Linked DNA regions of Homo sapiens: regions 1 and 2 are each linked to region 3. The links are contacts of gene promoters, found by promoter capture Hi-C in blood cells and fetal thymus (Javierre and others, 2016). All regions are on one chromosome and are shown on one strand. The core of a region is centred on a gene start or on the middle of the fragment in contact, and the rest is flanking DNA. Distances in the headings are between cores, read along the strand shown.

Region 1 (4,905 bases), core at 2,308-4,807, 1.0 Mb after region 3:
TTCAATATATCTCTCTGATAATGAGCAGTGCTTATATTAGAAACATCTTTTTTTTAAATGTGGAAAACTATACTATGATTTAATGAACTTAATAAACTCTTGGTGTAAAACTGCCTACAAAGATGACGTCTGCAGAGCAGCAGAAAATTAACTGTGGGCAGCGACAGCTTAATGTAGCAACAGATTCTACACTTTGCTTTTAAACACTGGATTATTTGCGCTTAGAGTTTTCCAAGCTTGTAGTCACTGGGTCTGGTTCTTTAATGAGTGTCTTTGATATCTTTTCTAGTTCAGTGCAGAAACAGCCAGAGGGTGGAAGAAACCCCCAGGGCTAACTAAAGACAGCTCAGAAATGCTTCTCAGCTGTGGACTCTCCGAGGCCGGCTTCCAGCCAGCGGTCAGCAACCTTTCTGAAGTGGCGGCGGGCCGAGTCTTTATTTGCGCTGAATTCAGCTCTGGCCAGTTTTGTGCAGATCAGAGCCTCTAAGTAAGGCGGGACGATTGCTGTACGACCCTCTGTACTTGCTGGGAGGGGACGAGGGTATGGGAGGGAACTGCTCTTCCCCACCCCGTCCTCCTCTGTGCGTCTAGTCCTGAGCTGGGATTCCTGCCCGGGTCGGGGGCCCCAGAGCTGCTCCAAGGCCCTGGCCAGCTGAGGCCCCGTGAGTAAATACAGCCCAACGCAGAGCCAGGCTAGCACAGGCAGGGCTGTTTTCTCTCTTGCATGAGGTAATCTGCTGCGGTGGGTTGGATTCCAAGTGGCATTCATCTCCGCTAATGTGACGTGTAAATGCACAAACACAGCCACAGGCATCAGCAGAGGGACGCCGTTCCCCCCGCAGCCTGGCTGTCCTGCTTCCCGTTCGGATAAAATGAGCCCTTCACTGTCATACGGAGTGATGCCCGACCCCAGGTCGACTAGGCATGGCTCAGCTTTCCACGTAGGAGACAAACTGAAGCCCATGGTTATGTGAACACACTAGATCCAGGCTGCCTGGGTTGTAGCTCCGCAACTCCAATTATTAGCTATGTGACTCTGGCAAGTTAAGTTACCTCTCTGTGACTTGGTTTCCCATCTTTAAAGGGGGATTTGCAAACATAGGGTTGTGAGGGTTGCATGAGTTCACACATGTAAAAAGGCCTAAAATGGTGCCTGCCACACAGTGTGTTATATACAAACGTCGTTATATGCTAATCATGTTCTCAAGTATGGCTTATGGATCTAGGAAAAGCGCATCGCTGATCAATCCAGAGCAAGATTTTTCTTTTAAAAAATATACTGACATATTTAACATTTTAACACTAGCTGTGATGTTCTGGGCCAGTTGCTTAGTCTGCCCAAACCTCAGTTTCCTTACTTATATAATGGGTAATTAATAATACTGTACCTATGTAATAGGGTTAGTGTGTAAATCAAATGACACAAAGCACATAGTGCCTGGCAATAGTAACTTGCTATGTCTATTTCTTCTAAAATAGGGTCTTTAAACTTAGGATACCTTCTAGTTGATACCTGGATAATTAAAAAAAAAAAACAATTTATGATGTCGGTAATCTAAACCTGGGGGTCCAATCTTTTAGCTTCCCTGGGCCACACTGGAAGAAGAATTGTCTTGGGCCACACATAGAATCAGTGAACACTAATGAGAGCTGATGAGCTTAAAAAAAAAAAAAAAATCACAAGAAAATCTCATCATGTTTTAAGAAAGTTTACGGATTTGTACTGGGCCACATTCAAAGCCGTCCTGGGCCCCATGCAGCCCGTGAGCGACAAGCTTTATTTAAACGATGTTTAAAATTTCCTTTGTTTTTAGGTTTTATCTGCTAGTTACAAACATGTCACATGAATTCTCTACATACTGTCTTCAAATTTGGAAGACACTTTTGTCACTGCACACTGCACACAAACCTACCATACATGAGGGCAAAGTTAGTATTTCATTTCACTACACAGGACCCACGGGGAACACAGAGGGCACATGAGACAGGATGCATCGAAGGTGACATGGCCCGAGGCGCCAACCTCCCTGTCGTGGCGGCTCTAGTTCCCTACACTGCTTTGCAAACCTCAATTGTGAATGCTACCAGCTAGAAAAACCTCTGTGATCACCTGCAAAAGCTATTCCTAGTAGGAAACCTCACTGAAAAGACCTTTTGTTTAAACTGAAACCCAAATGAGAGTAAAATGTCCCTATCTTATCATAAAAATTGGACTGGTTAAATTCCTGAAGTAATAAAGAATTTGAAATTTATGATCTTTATTCAATATATGGAATAAAATGTAATGATTTTACGTATCTGGCCAAAGACAGAAATTTGCTGACTTCTGTCTTACCTTAATTTTCCATGGGTTAGTTTTTTCTCAGCACATTATAATAGTGGATAATTTAGTGAATGCTGTTTTGCTGACCTAAAGCAAAAATCCACAGAAGCTGAAATCTTAGTAGCCAGAAAATATAACCAAAATACTAGGGAATGGTGAACTCACTCCTAGGGAGCAGTGAACCCACTGGGAACATTTAACTTGCTATGAGTTGTAAAAAGAAAATTTATTATAAACATTTGTGTATATATAATACATTTATTATAGACATTTCTCCCTCATTTTGCAAAGTTTTTGGCTTTTAAAGCACAGCATCACAGGCCTCAGCAAGTCTACTGTAAGTCAACAGTAAGAAACACACTGTGTGACAATACAGGTCATGGTCAAAAATAGTTTGTGTGTCATTAAGACACAACATGAATGTGCGAAGTGAGATGCACACTCAGCTGAGTCAGAGCCTGAAGATAACCAACACACGCGTAAGGCTTTCAGTGTATAAAAGCCTCTCAACGGAATTACTTACGCCCTAGGGTTCAATACAAGGTATCAATGATCTCTAAGGACAGATTTGGCCAGGGGGTTGGGATTAAAAAAGGGAAAACGTATCAGGACAGTTACAAAGTTCAGAGCCCTCATTTTTAGAATTTCTAAACACATGCCGCCTTTTAGCAGAGACCTGTGGTATAAAAATTACAGAATTCTATGAGAGCAAAGGAGATGCAGCACTGTTTGCTTCCCAGAACTGATAAAAAGGAGCTAAAAAGCAACACCTAAAAAATTCCTGCTTAATATTATTTAGTACTTTTATGCTTAAAAATTCCAAATGACTAAGAACTTTTGCAGAATCTCTAAAACCAAAACCAAAACAATGTGTTTACCAAAAGAGTTAAATGCTTTGTTTGTTTGAAGTGGGAATTAACTCACGTGTATGTGTACATATGTGCTTATTTCATGAGGTTCTGTAATTTGATGCATAACTGCTGTCATTCATATGGAGTTGAGCAATATTGGATATTCTAAGGTTTAGTAAAGCCAGAAGTTATATGAACATTTTATTTTAGTGAGATTTTAAAAAACTATCTTTCAGATGACACAAAATTTTTAAAAATCACAAATTTCAAACTATAGTTTGAAACATTAAACAGAATTCAAACTAAAATATCATTGGATTTTTAATGATCATTCTAAACTTTAATTATACAACAAGAGCCAACAGTATGGGTAAATGGCCATTAATAACTGGAAATAGAAAATACATGAACCTAAAATGCACAGAGCCAAAATCTTTATAATATAGAGCCAAGTTTTTATTTTAGTCTGGATGGAAACTTTACTGGGAAGAAGAAATGCACCCAGTCACACTTGAGTGTCTAATGCAAACAGGATTTTGGCACTAGGTTTTAATGCAAAGGATAATACATATCATAGTACTCTGTGATTAAAGGACTTGTATTTCGGAATGAATTTTTTGTTTGATATGCTCATTTGGCAACCTATTTATTATTTTTTAAGTCTAATTGTAAGCCTCAATGTCAAAGACTGCTGCCGGGTGTCCTTTTGATACGCTGTCACTGTGACACTCAGAGCTGAATGCTCCACATAAAAAATACGTAGTAATTATTGTTTTATGTTAGAACTGCTTGTGTTCCTGATTTACTTGTAATTCCAAGCTCACCCAAATGAAAATAAACTTGCAAAAAAGAATAAAACCCCTTTTGCCGTGCTTGCAAAAATCTTCATAAAAATCAGCATCTATGGAACTGAAAACATAATTCACAAGTATTTCTATAAGGGAAGGAATTTTAGGTAATCCTTATGTTGGAGCTAGGATAAAAATAATTTGATGGAGTAACATATTTGGTATCAATTCTGGGGTAATAAGAGATGCTGGAGATTTATAATAAAATCAGTTCTGCTTCTTGGAACATCTAAGCCACAAATTTGATACATCAAAAGGCAAATTAGTGGATACGGATAAAGTTCATACAGAAGTAGCAAAGAAAAAGGGTGGTTTTGCACAAATAGTACATATGCCAACCTCCTTTAACTACATAAGCAGAATGTCTATACAAGTTCATGGTTTGAGAAATGATCTAAGAGGTCATTAATAACTTCTAATTTTCACAGTGAAAACAGTGAGAATGTGCACATCTGTGACTAGCATCCAGATGTGAACATCTTATAATTTTTATTTTGAATCTGTTTATGTATGAATGTGGAAAGAGAATATACCTCAACATACTTGTGAAACAGTGCTGTAAGTAAGCCGCGCAAAACTGGAGAAGCGTTAAGTTATAACTGTTAGGGCTGGCAAGACCTAGCTGTTGGCAATTTTCCCTCAAGCTAATACGTAAAAAGTAAAATTTATTCCTTTTTTAATACTGTCATATTTTATGACAACTCTATGTGGTAATGTCAAAGGTGACGGTTTGGTCTTCCTCCACAAACTGGGATATGACAGCTGAACTGCATACAAGACCTACAAAATAGGACCTACGGGATGGCTTCGTTCCAGTCGTAACAGAAGATTCTGGTGCGCAGATATCTATGGTGATAATCTAAGAAATGTCAAAGGCTGAACA
Region 2 (5,001 bases), core at 630-3,129, 1.9 Mb after region 3:
TTTTTTAGACAGAGTCTTGCTTTGTCGCCCAACCTGGAGTGCAATTGTGTGGTCTTGGCTCAGTGCAACCTCCACCTCCCGGGTTCAAGCAGTTCTCCTGCCTCAGCCTCCCGAGTAGCTGGGATTACAGGTGCCTGCCACCATGCCCAAGTAATTTTTTGTATTTTTATTTATTATTTATTTATTTATTTATTTGAGATGGAGTCTCGCTCTCACCCAGGCTGGAGTGCAGTGGCATGATCTTGGCTCACTGCAACCTCCGCCTCCCGAGTTCAAGTGATTCTCCTGCCTCAGCCTCCTGAATAGCTGAGACTACACGTGCGTGCCACCACGCCCAGCTAATTTTTTTTTTGTATTTTTAGTACAGATGGGGTTTCACCATGTCAGTCAGGATGGTCTCGATACCCTGACCTCGTGATCCGCCTGCCTTGGCCTCCCAAAGTGCTGGGATTACAGACGTGAGCCACTGTGACTGGCCTTGTATTTTTAATATTAGAGACGAGGTTTTGCCATGTTGTTCAGGCTGGTCTCCAACTCCTGACCTTGAGTGATCCACCCACCTCGGCCTCCCAAAGTGCTGGGATTGCAGGCATGAGTCGCTACACCCCGCCAAATTTTTGAATGAAGGAATTAATTGAAGGGAAATGGAGCTTTGGAAAATATTTAGTTGGAGAATGTGAAATTAAATGAAAATAACTTGACTCTAAAGGTACTGGGAATTATTAATGACAAAGTAATTATGCGCGTTTTAAACTCAAATAATAGAAAAAGATATTGCAGTATTGAATTCTGTAACTGACAAAATGGTTTTTGAAACCAAAAATGAGAATTCATTGATTTTATCTTTCTGTCATCTTCCAAACATCTTGAGAAACCAGGTCAACTGTAATTATTTAAAAATAGAACTTCACTAATCTGCTGTGATCTTGAAGGTGTTGCCTTCTCCAAAATGACTTGCTCTGTTTTGCTTTGGGGGTCACTGCCATCCCACATCCAGTCTCTAGCAATTCCTAGTGTGACTGTTTTCTCTGTAGCCTGGTTGAGAAGGAAATGTTGAACAGATTTCAAGCATGAGTTACGACTGCTGTGTTCAATAATACTGGCTGCAAGCTTATGTCATTGGTCAGTGGGACCAAGGCAAGTAGTGTAAATCAGATCAGAACAGCTGTTGGAAAAAAATGTATTTCTTCCTGTTGTAAATTAGATCAATGACAATGATTCTATGAGTAAAGGTCAGGGAGAGTTCACTGTCATCAGTTAACTTACAGTAAAACCTTATCTAGCCTTGTTTCTCACAATTGAATTTTCTAAATAATTGAACAGTTCCTTTTTGTGTAAAATATGAAACAAAAGGCCGGGCGCGGTGGCTCACGCCTGTAATCCCAGCACTTTGGGAGGCCGAGGTGGCGGATCACAAGGTCAGGAGATCAAGACCAGCTGGCTAACATTGGTGAAACCCCATCTCTAATAAAAATAGAAAAATTATCTGGGCGTGGTGGCGGGTGCCTGTAGTCCCAGCTACTATAGGGGCTGAGGCAGGAGAATCGCTTGAACCCGGGAGGTTGAGGTTGCAGTGAGCTGAGATCACACCGTTGCACTCCAGCCTGGGCAACAAGAGTGAAACTCCGTCTCAAAAAAAAAAAAAAAAAGTAATTTATGGTGTACTAATTTTTCTTTATAAAATAACTGAATATGAGGCTGGGCACAGTGGCTCACGCCTGTAATCCCAGCACTTTGGGAGGCCAAGGTGGGCAGATCACAAGGTCAGGAGTTTGAGACCAGCCTGGCCAATATGGGGAAACCCTGCCTCTACTAAAAAATACAAAAATTAGCTGGGCGTGGTGGCTCACACCTGTAGTCCCAGCTACTCGGGAGGCTGAGGCAGGAGAATCGCTGGAACCCGGGGGGCGGAGGTTGCAGTGAGCTGAGATAGCGCAACTGCACTCCAGTCTGGGCAACGGGGCGAGACTCCGTCTCAAAAAAAAAACAAAAAAACTAAATATGGTTTAATCATTTAGTGCTTTAGTGCTTGCAGATGGCTGAAATGTGACAGTTCATTTGTACTTAAAGGGATCTCAGAGTGCTAGGACTTTTTTTTTTTTTAATTTGTTTCAAGATGGGATCTCACTCTGTTGCCCAGGCTGGAGTGCAGTGGCATGATCATGGCTCACTGCAGCCTTGAATTCCCGGGCTCAAGCGATCCTTCCATCTCAACATCCTGAGTAGCTGGAACCACAGGTGCATGCCACCATCCCACACCTCTCCCTCGCTAATTTTTTTATTATTATTTTTGGTAGAGATGGGGTCTCAAACTCCTGAGCTCAAGTGATCCTCACCCTTCAGCCTCCCAGAGTGCTTGGTTTACTGGCCTGAGCCACCACGCCCAGCTAGTGCTGGGAATTTTATCTTTGTGATTATACTTTTCCTGTCTACTTCCTCGCATTATAAAAGCTCTTACCATTGTCACTTTCCAACCTCAATTCCCACTATGATTTTCTATGTTCAGTTAGAGACACTAATCAATGTGCTTGTCAGAATTGACTCTAAAATCATAAGAAATGGTTTTCTCTTTTTTAAATAACACAACCTGTCATACTAGAAATGAGTTTCTAATTCAGAACTGTGATGCTCTGCTGTAAGTAATGTGTTTAAGCTTTAGTTTTTGGTCAACCAGAGTGCTTTTTTGCTGCTTGCCTTGTCTTCTTTTTTCATTGTTTAGTGGTATCCTGGATTTGTCTGATTAAGGGATCTCTGAGTGTGTGCAGTGACATATTCAGAAAACAAATGGGTTGGCTATATTAAATCTCAAAATTGGAGCTGATTTGTCATGGCCTAGTTAATATTTTGTTTCCTCCCTACCATATATAATCCTTCATAGTGTGTCCCTGCTGTTGTCTTTCTTCTATTTATACCTTTTTTTTTTTATTTATTGTATTTTTTTTTTTAGGGCTAGGATCTTGACCTGTCACCCAGGCTGGAGTGCGGTGGCGTGATCATAGCTCACTGCAGCCGTAAACTCCTGGGCTTAAGCAATCGTCCTGCTTCAGCCTCTTGAGTAGCTAGCATTATGTTGCCCATGCTGGTCTTGAATTCCTGGGCTCAAGCAATCTTCCTATCTGGGCCTCCTGAGTTGCTGGGATTAGGCATGAGCCACTGTTCCCAGCCTGTTTATAAATTTTTAATTATGTCCTTTTTGAGATAGGGTCTTGCTCTTTGTCACCCAGGATGGAGTGCAGTGGTGCAGTCACAGTTCATTGCAGCCTCGACCTCCTGGGATCAAGCAATTCTCCTACCTCAGCCTCTGGAGTAGCTGGGACCACAGGTGTGGGCCACCACATCTGGCTAATTTTTTTTTTCTTTTGTAGAGATGGGGTCTCACTATGTTGTCCTGGCTGGTTTTGAACTCCTGGCCTCAAGCAGTCCACCCACCTTGACTTCCCAAAGTGCTGGGATTACAGGCATGAGCCACCATGGCTGATATATATATGTTTAAATATAGAGACAGGGTCTCACTGTGTTGCCCAGGCTGGTCTTTAACTCTTGGCCTCAAGCAATCCTCCCACCTCAGCCTACCAAGTCACTGGAATGACAGGTGTGAGCTACCACACCTAGTTTGTTTATACATTTTTTATTAGTTTTCTGGTCCACAAAGCTGCGGTAATTACAAGGGAATTCAAATATTAGGTCCTCATGCAGACTCCAAATCAAAGTGTGCACAGATGCGTCCGGTACAGATATGACAGTTATCTTTGAATTTTCTCTCCCTAATTCTTCTTTAATGTGTGTATATTACATCTACATAGGTAAGAAAGTTAGTCTTCCTCCTGAACTTCCTTTTTCATTAGAGTAAAATATTTTTTCTCATATTGATTAGTGTTTAATAGAGTCAGTAAATACCCTTGCATTAATATGCTGACAAGTAGATTTTGACAATTTGAAAAAAGCAAAGGATGAATTAATTCCTGTGGGGTCTATGAATTTTATATTTTAAAGCAGTTAAAGTAGGGGAAAAAACCTACACACACAGGACATTTTATACTTGAAACTGGAATTATTTTAGCAAGTGAGGATGCCAAGTAGAATGTCAGTGTATAGAGATTTAGCCTTAATGATATATGCTTGAAGTAATGATTGAGTCTAAACAAATGTTCCACCTAGATTAGAGGTTGTCTGTTTGAATAATTTTAGGGATGGACAAAGTAGTTGTATTTCTTAGCTTATAGGTACAAAAAGCTGGTGTGCAAAATAGGTACTTGTGAAGGGAATTTATACCAATGTGTCATGTGACACTTCTGCAGTCAATTTGTAAGATAAATTCAAATAAGGCTTTCAGTTCTGATGACAAACAGGAAACATTCACGCTTTTTGTTTCTCACAGTGAAATACAAGCTACACTAGTGATGTAATAGGAACGAAAGAAGAAGGAAATGCCACAGTTAAGTGGACAACTGCAGTCAGGAAATTCTTAGCTGTTACTTTGCTACCTTTGCCATCTTGCTGAAAAGCACTGACTAGACCTAAAGGGAATAAACAGTTAATGCTTTTGCTGTTTACTAAATCTAAACAATGCTCATGTCTCCATAAACAGTAGGTACCGAAACCTCAGTAACTGCTTACACAGAATTCTAGGCCAAAGAAGAGACAGATTTAAGATGTATGTTAAACTTGTCAATATAAACTTGTCAATATAAAGTCATTCTCTGACTGATTTTTCATTACCAGTTCCTTCCTTCCTTCCTTCCTTCCTTCCTTCCTTCCTTCCTTCCTTCCTTCCTTCCTTTCTCTTTCTCTCTCTCTCTTTCTCTTTCTTTCTTTCTTGTTTTCTTTTTCTTTTTTGATGTAGTCTTGCTCTGTCGCCCAGGCTGGAGTGCAGTGATGCAATTTCGGCTCACTGAAACCTTTGCCTCCTGGGTTCAAGCGATTCTTCTGCCTCAACTTCCCAAGTAGTTGGGATTACAAGCGTCTGCCAACACACCTGGCTAATTTGCGTGTGTTTGTGTG
Region 3 (4,307 bases), core at 1,187-3,686:
CCCAGTACACAGTAAATGTTGAATAAATATTTACTGAATGAATAATTAATTGTGTATTTGAACTGTTTTACTGTTTTATACTGTCTGCTTTTCTTCCTTTTCACTTAACATTTTATAGAAATATACAAAATATTATACTTCAGATATACAAGAAAAAGTTTGATATCTGGTACAAGTTAAAATGAAAATGAGTTATTTACACTCATGTTTTTTCTTATAATTTTCATACTCAACATATGTTAAAATCAGTTTTAAATAATTTGAATTATATTTTGTGAACACTTATGTATACATCTTTAACAAAATTTGTTTCAGATACTATTGTTTATATACAGGCTGTTATGAAATAATACATTTTCCCTATTTTTAAAAATTTCTGAAACCTCTTACAAATGATACATTTTTTTTGTTTTGTTTAGGAAATAGCAAGTGTTTACTTACATTTGTTTTAAGTGTTAAAGAATAGGGCAAGGTACCCATCCTTCTTTACATACAAATTAATTCCTTCACAAGAACTAAGCTCCAATGCATTAAAAATAAAACAAATGTGTTTTTAAATAATTTAATGCATTAAGGCTTGGCTGCAGTGTTTGGGAGGGGAAGTTTCACACTGATTTTTAACTCAGAATTGCTCTATAGTAAGAGTCTGAACAGGACTTGGATATTGAGCTGGTATCCTTTGTATAAGGGTGAAGATAAAATATATGGTTAAGATACACAAGACAGTATAGTTTTGTTTGAAGCCCGTTTTAGTTTCATAAATTTTTAAGGTAGTTAAAAAATATAATTATTATATATCCAGAAATGTATTAATTGTTGTCACATCCCAAAAAAGAATTCATATTATGTAGTCTTGTAGTCACCTTTTCTAAATGCACTATGTGAATTCTCATTGTTTTAGTGTATATTTTAATTGCCATTACTTTGTATATCTCAGCTTTTAAAACATCTGAATTTGCTATATATGCTCTCATTGTGCTGTATACCTATTATCACTCTTACACAGATTTCTAGCAATTAATTTGAAATAGAAAAACAGCCATGATACCTTTTCTAACCCCCCTTTATCAGAAGAACATTTAGAAGGCTTTTAAAGCCCAAACCATTATATTATCTTTTGGCGACCGACTAGGAGAACTTGGGTTCTCTATGCTTTAGCACTGTGAAAGTGCATCTTCCAGATCAGCACATTTATAATGCGAATTGCTGATAAAGAACCATTTTGTACCTGCAAGGTATTAATCAAAAGTCATGAATTCGCCTTTTAACTGGGCTTGTCATTTAAACAATCTATGCATAATTCTGATTTCATGCGAAACTTTTCTAATTAGACATTTTTTGCTTAAACATCAATATTGGGCTTTACGGATGCATAAGGAATAGGCAGACAGTGGAAGATTTTAGTTTAAAAGTGCTCAGCATCCAGCTAATTAATCTATGCAGATAGGCCTAATCCATTTTCCATTTGTTTGTGAGGTGGGAGCTCTCATCTTTCTGCCACTTTTAAATGACCTCACATTTCCAAGTATAAATTTGGAGAAAAGACCCGGATCAGAGGAATCCTCCATCAAAACTGGACGCCACTGTCTGATGGCGTTAATTATGTTTTAGCGACTGACTAGGAGGGCTAGAGTTCCTTCTTCCTTTTGGTGTAATACAACTGCATTTTCCGGATCATCGTATTATATTGCTAATTCCGGATAAACCACCATTTGTCCTGCACACCGAGCTGAGGGGCGCCTTGGCGTTCCCTCTCCGAGTGCAGCCCTAACACAGGCTTTTGACCTTCAGCCTGGAATACACTTTCGTTTGTCATTGGGGCCCACGTAGTGCGAAAATGGGCGGCAGATTTGGTAGGACTTCCAGCGGGTGAACTTTGGGAAGAGTCCAGGACGTGAATTTAATGGGTGGAGTGGCTGCGGCAGCACTGTGAAGTTAGCGCGGCCAACTGCAGGAAGCCATGCTTCATTACACCCTTCATGGAAGCTGGCACACTCGCCCCACCCTCGTTTTCCACGGGCCAGTCTTGGAGGAAAAGGCCAGCAGGTAGGTTCCCAGGGCACGGAGATGATGCCCCCGGGGACTCCCCTCTGGCGATTCTGAGAAAACCCCTTCCCAGCCCTGGGCGTCCACCTCCCCCGCCACCTCCCAGGCCTCTTCCCGACGCTCACACGCGGCCCGCGCCACCAGCGCTGCAGAGGGCGGCCCTAACGTCCCCGCCCCCGCGTGCGCGCCCCCGCGCCCGTTCATTCCGGCCTCCGCGCGCCGCCGGCTCCCCTCGCGCCCACCCCCAGCACACCTCGGCGGCGGCGAGCGGCGCGGGGGAGGGGGACGGGGCCCCGGAGGTAGGCCGGGGGCAGCCAACAGGCCGCGGCAGCGCGCACGCAGGGCTAGCCTCGCCCAGGCCTCCTCCCTCACGCCGGCCGCAGGACGGGCGCGCACGCCAAGTGACGCTCCGAGGAGGAAGCGCAGCCCCCTTCCCCTCCCTCGCTGCCCCTGGCCCAGCGGGAGCCCCCCCTCCCCCCAGTGCGCCTGTGCGGAGGCCCTCTTGATTATGTGTGCCCTCTCCGGGCGCCCGCGTTAGCGGCCGGGTGGAGGTGGGGAGGGAAGACGCTGAGGAGGAGGAGGAGGCGGAGGAGGCGGTGGAGGGGAGGTGGGGGGAATCAGCAAGGACATGGCTCCTGACTCCTGTGCGGAACGTGAGTGACTGAGCGGCAAAGCCCGAGTGAGCGAGCGGTGGGCTGCCGGGCCGGGCGGGGGGCGCCGGGGCGGGCTCGGGGGGCTGTGTGGGGGGGAAGCACTAATCGGCTTGCATGTGTTTTTTAATGGTCCCCCCAACTCCCTCTTAGATGGTCTCTAGCGACCGGCCCGTGTCACTGGAGGACGAGGTCTCCCATAGTATGAAGGAGATGATTGGAGGCTGTTGCGTTTGCTCAGACGAGAGAGGCTGGGCCGAGAACCCGCTGGTTTATTGCGACGGGCACGGCTGCAGCGTCGCGGTGCATCAAGGTAAACACCCAACCGCCCGCCGGGGCGCGCCGGCCTGCGCCCAACGGTCACCGCCGCCCCCACCTGGGCCGCAACCGCCGGCGCCCCCGCCCCGTGCCGCGGCCGCGGGAGGGACGCGGAGGGTCCGCGGCGGGGCGCGGGGGGTGTGGGCCGCGCATGTGGGAGAAAGTGCGTGTGGCCCGGACTGTCATGTGATTCCGCTCTCACTCTCTCAAGTGTCATTCGGCCGCCGCCTGCGCCTGGGGCCGGGGTCTGCTGACTCGGCGGGGCGGGGCGGGGCAGGGCGGCGGCCGCGCCCTCGAGATCTGGGCCGGGGTGGGGGCGGGGGCGGGGGCGGGGGCGGTGCGCGCCCTTCCCGGGGTTCCCGGGGCCACGGGGGTGGGTTTGGGAGAGTGGAGCGCCCTCTTCTCCCCTGGCCTGCAGCCGCCTGTCTGCCGCAGTGTTTGGAGACTTCCTGTGGCGTGGAGACGGGCTCGGGAACGCGGCGCCAGTGTGGGGAGGCTGGGGGTCGCCTTGCCTCTTTAGATGGGGAGGGATGCGGGGCCCGTTGCACCCCGAGCCAGAAGGCTCGGGCCCTGCCGCCGCCGCCCGGTAGCTGTCTGCGGAGGAGATGGCGGAGTCCGTTGCTGACCATGCGGGAGTGGCGGGGCTGCTGCAGCGCCTGTGGGGTGGCCGCGGCAGGCCACCACCAGCCTAGGTGGCTGAAGAGGTGGCGGTGCCAAGTCACTTTTGGGGAGCCTCTTAGTTTATTTCTGGTTGTTAACAATTGATGAGGTTTTTGGATATACAAGAAGGCCGAGGACACTAGTAAGATACTTTTCTGGCCTTTGAAGTGGCCGACTTTTCCCCATTTCACGTGGTAAGGAATCCAGGACAAAACAGTCTATATTCTTTTTTGGTGGCTCCATGTCCCTTCGCATTTCTGAATCTGGCATTAAGCGATGCATATGTTTTTAGTAGTCTGTTGGAAAGGACTACCACCAAAAGGGAGACGAAAATTTGAACATCTGCTAAAGTGCATTTTGTAGAGAAACGAATGTCACACTTGGAAAGGGAGACTTTAGAAGCAGTGGTGATGATTCTGAGGTAGTGTACTTACTCTGAGAATGCTGTTTATTCCCAGACTTTTATTTTTTTACTTTTTATTTTGTTGAGACGGAGTCTTGCTCTGTCACCCAGGCTGTAGTGCAGTGGTGCCATCTCAGCTTACTGCAACCTCTGCCTCCTGGGTTCAAGCGATTGATTCTCCTGCCTCAGCTTCTTGAGTAGCTGGGATAACAAGCACACCCTAGCACACC

Evidence for each region. Contacts are between HindIII fragments. The CHiCAGO score rates a contact against its expected background, and 5 or more counts as called.
Region 1: a fragment that was not itself captured here is called in contact with the fragment with the promoter of MLLT10 in region 3 in 1 of 17 cell types (total CD8 T cells); the score reaches 5.5 in total CD8 T cells.
Region 2: a fragment that was not itself captured here is called in contact with the fragment with the promoter of MLLT10 in region 3 in 1 of 17 cell types (neutrophils); the score reaches 5.3 in neutrophils.

What each region holds. Positions count from the first base shown.
Region 1 is chr10:22,554,237-22,559,141 of GRCh38, forward strand. All of the region lies in intron 6 of PIP4K2A (phosphatidylinositol-5-phosphate 4-kinase type 2 alpha), which reads right to left. LOC124902393 reads right to left here and starts at 1,059. Exons shown (of 1, transcript XM_047426113.1): 1 at 261-1,059. The coding sequence starts at 964. The coding sequence ends at 347. The HindIII fragment of the contact is 3,568 bases long and covers 1,774-4,905 here.
Region 2 is chr10:23,444,605-23,449,605 of GRCh38, forward strand. No RefSeq gene overlaps it. Among named protein-coding and RNA genes, the nearest start is that of OTUD1, 8.0 kb to the left of the region's middle. The HindIII fragment of the contact is 1,543 bases long and covers 1,109-2,651 here.
Region 3 is chr10:21,531,796-21,536,102 of GRCh38, forward strand. It overlaps MLLT10 (MLLT10 histone lysine methyltransferase DOT1L cofactor), which reads left to right and starts at 2,437. Exons shown (of 23, transcript NM_001195626.3): 1 at 2,437-2,725; 2 at 2,850-3,009. The coding sequence starts at 2,850. RefSeq lists enhancers at 2,006-2,719, 3,435-4,147 and silencers at 2,085-2,614, 2,625-2,694, 2,805-3,144, 3,285-3,374. The HindIII fragment of the contact is 10,036 bases long and covers 1-4,307 here.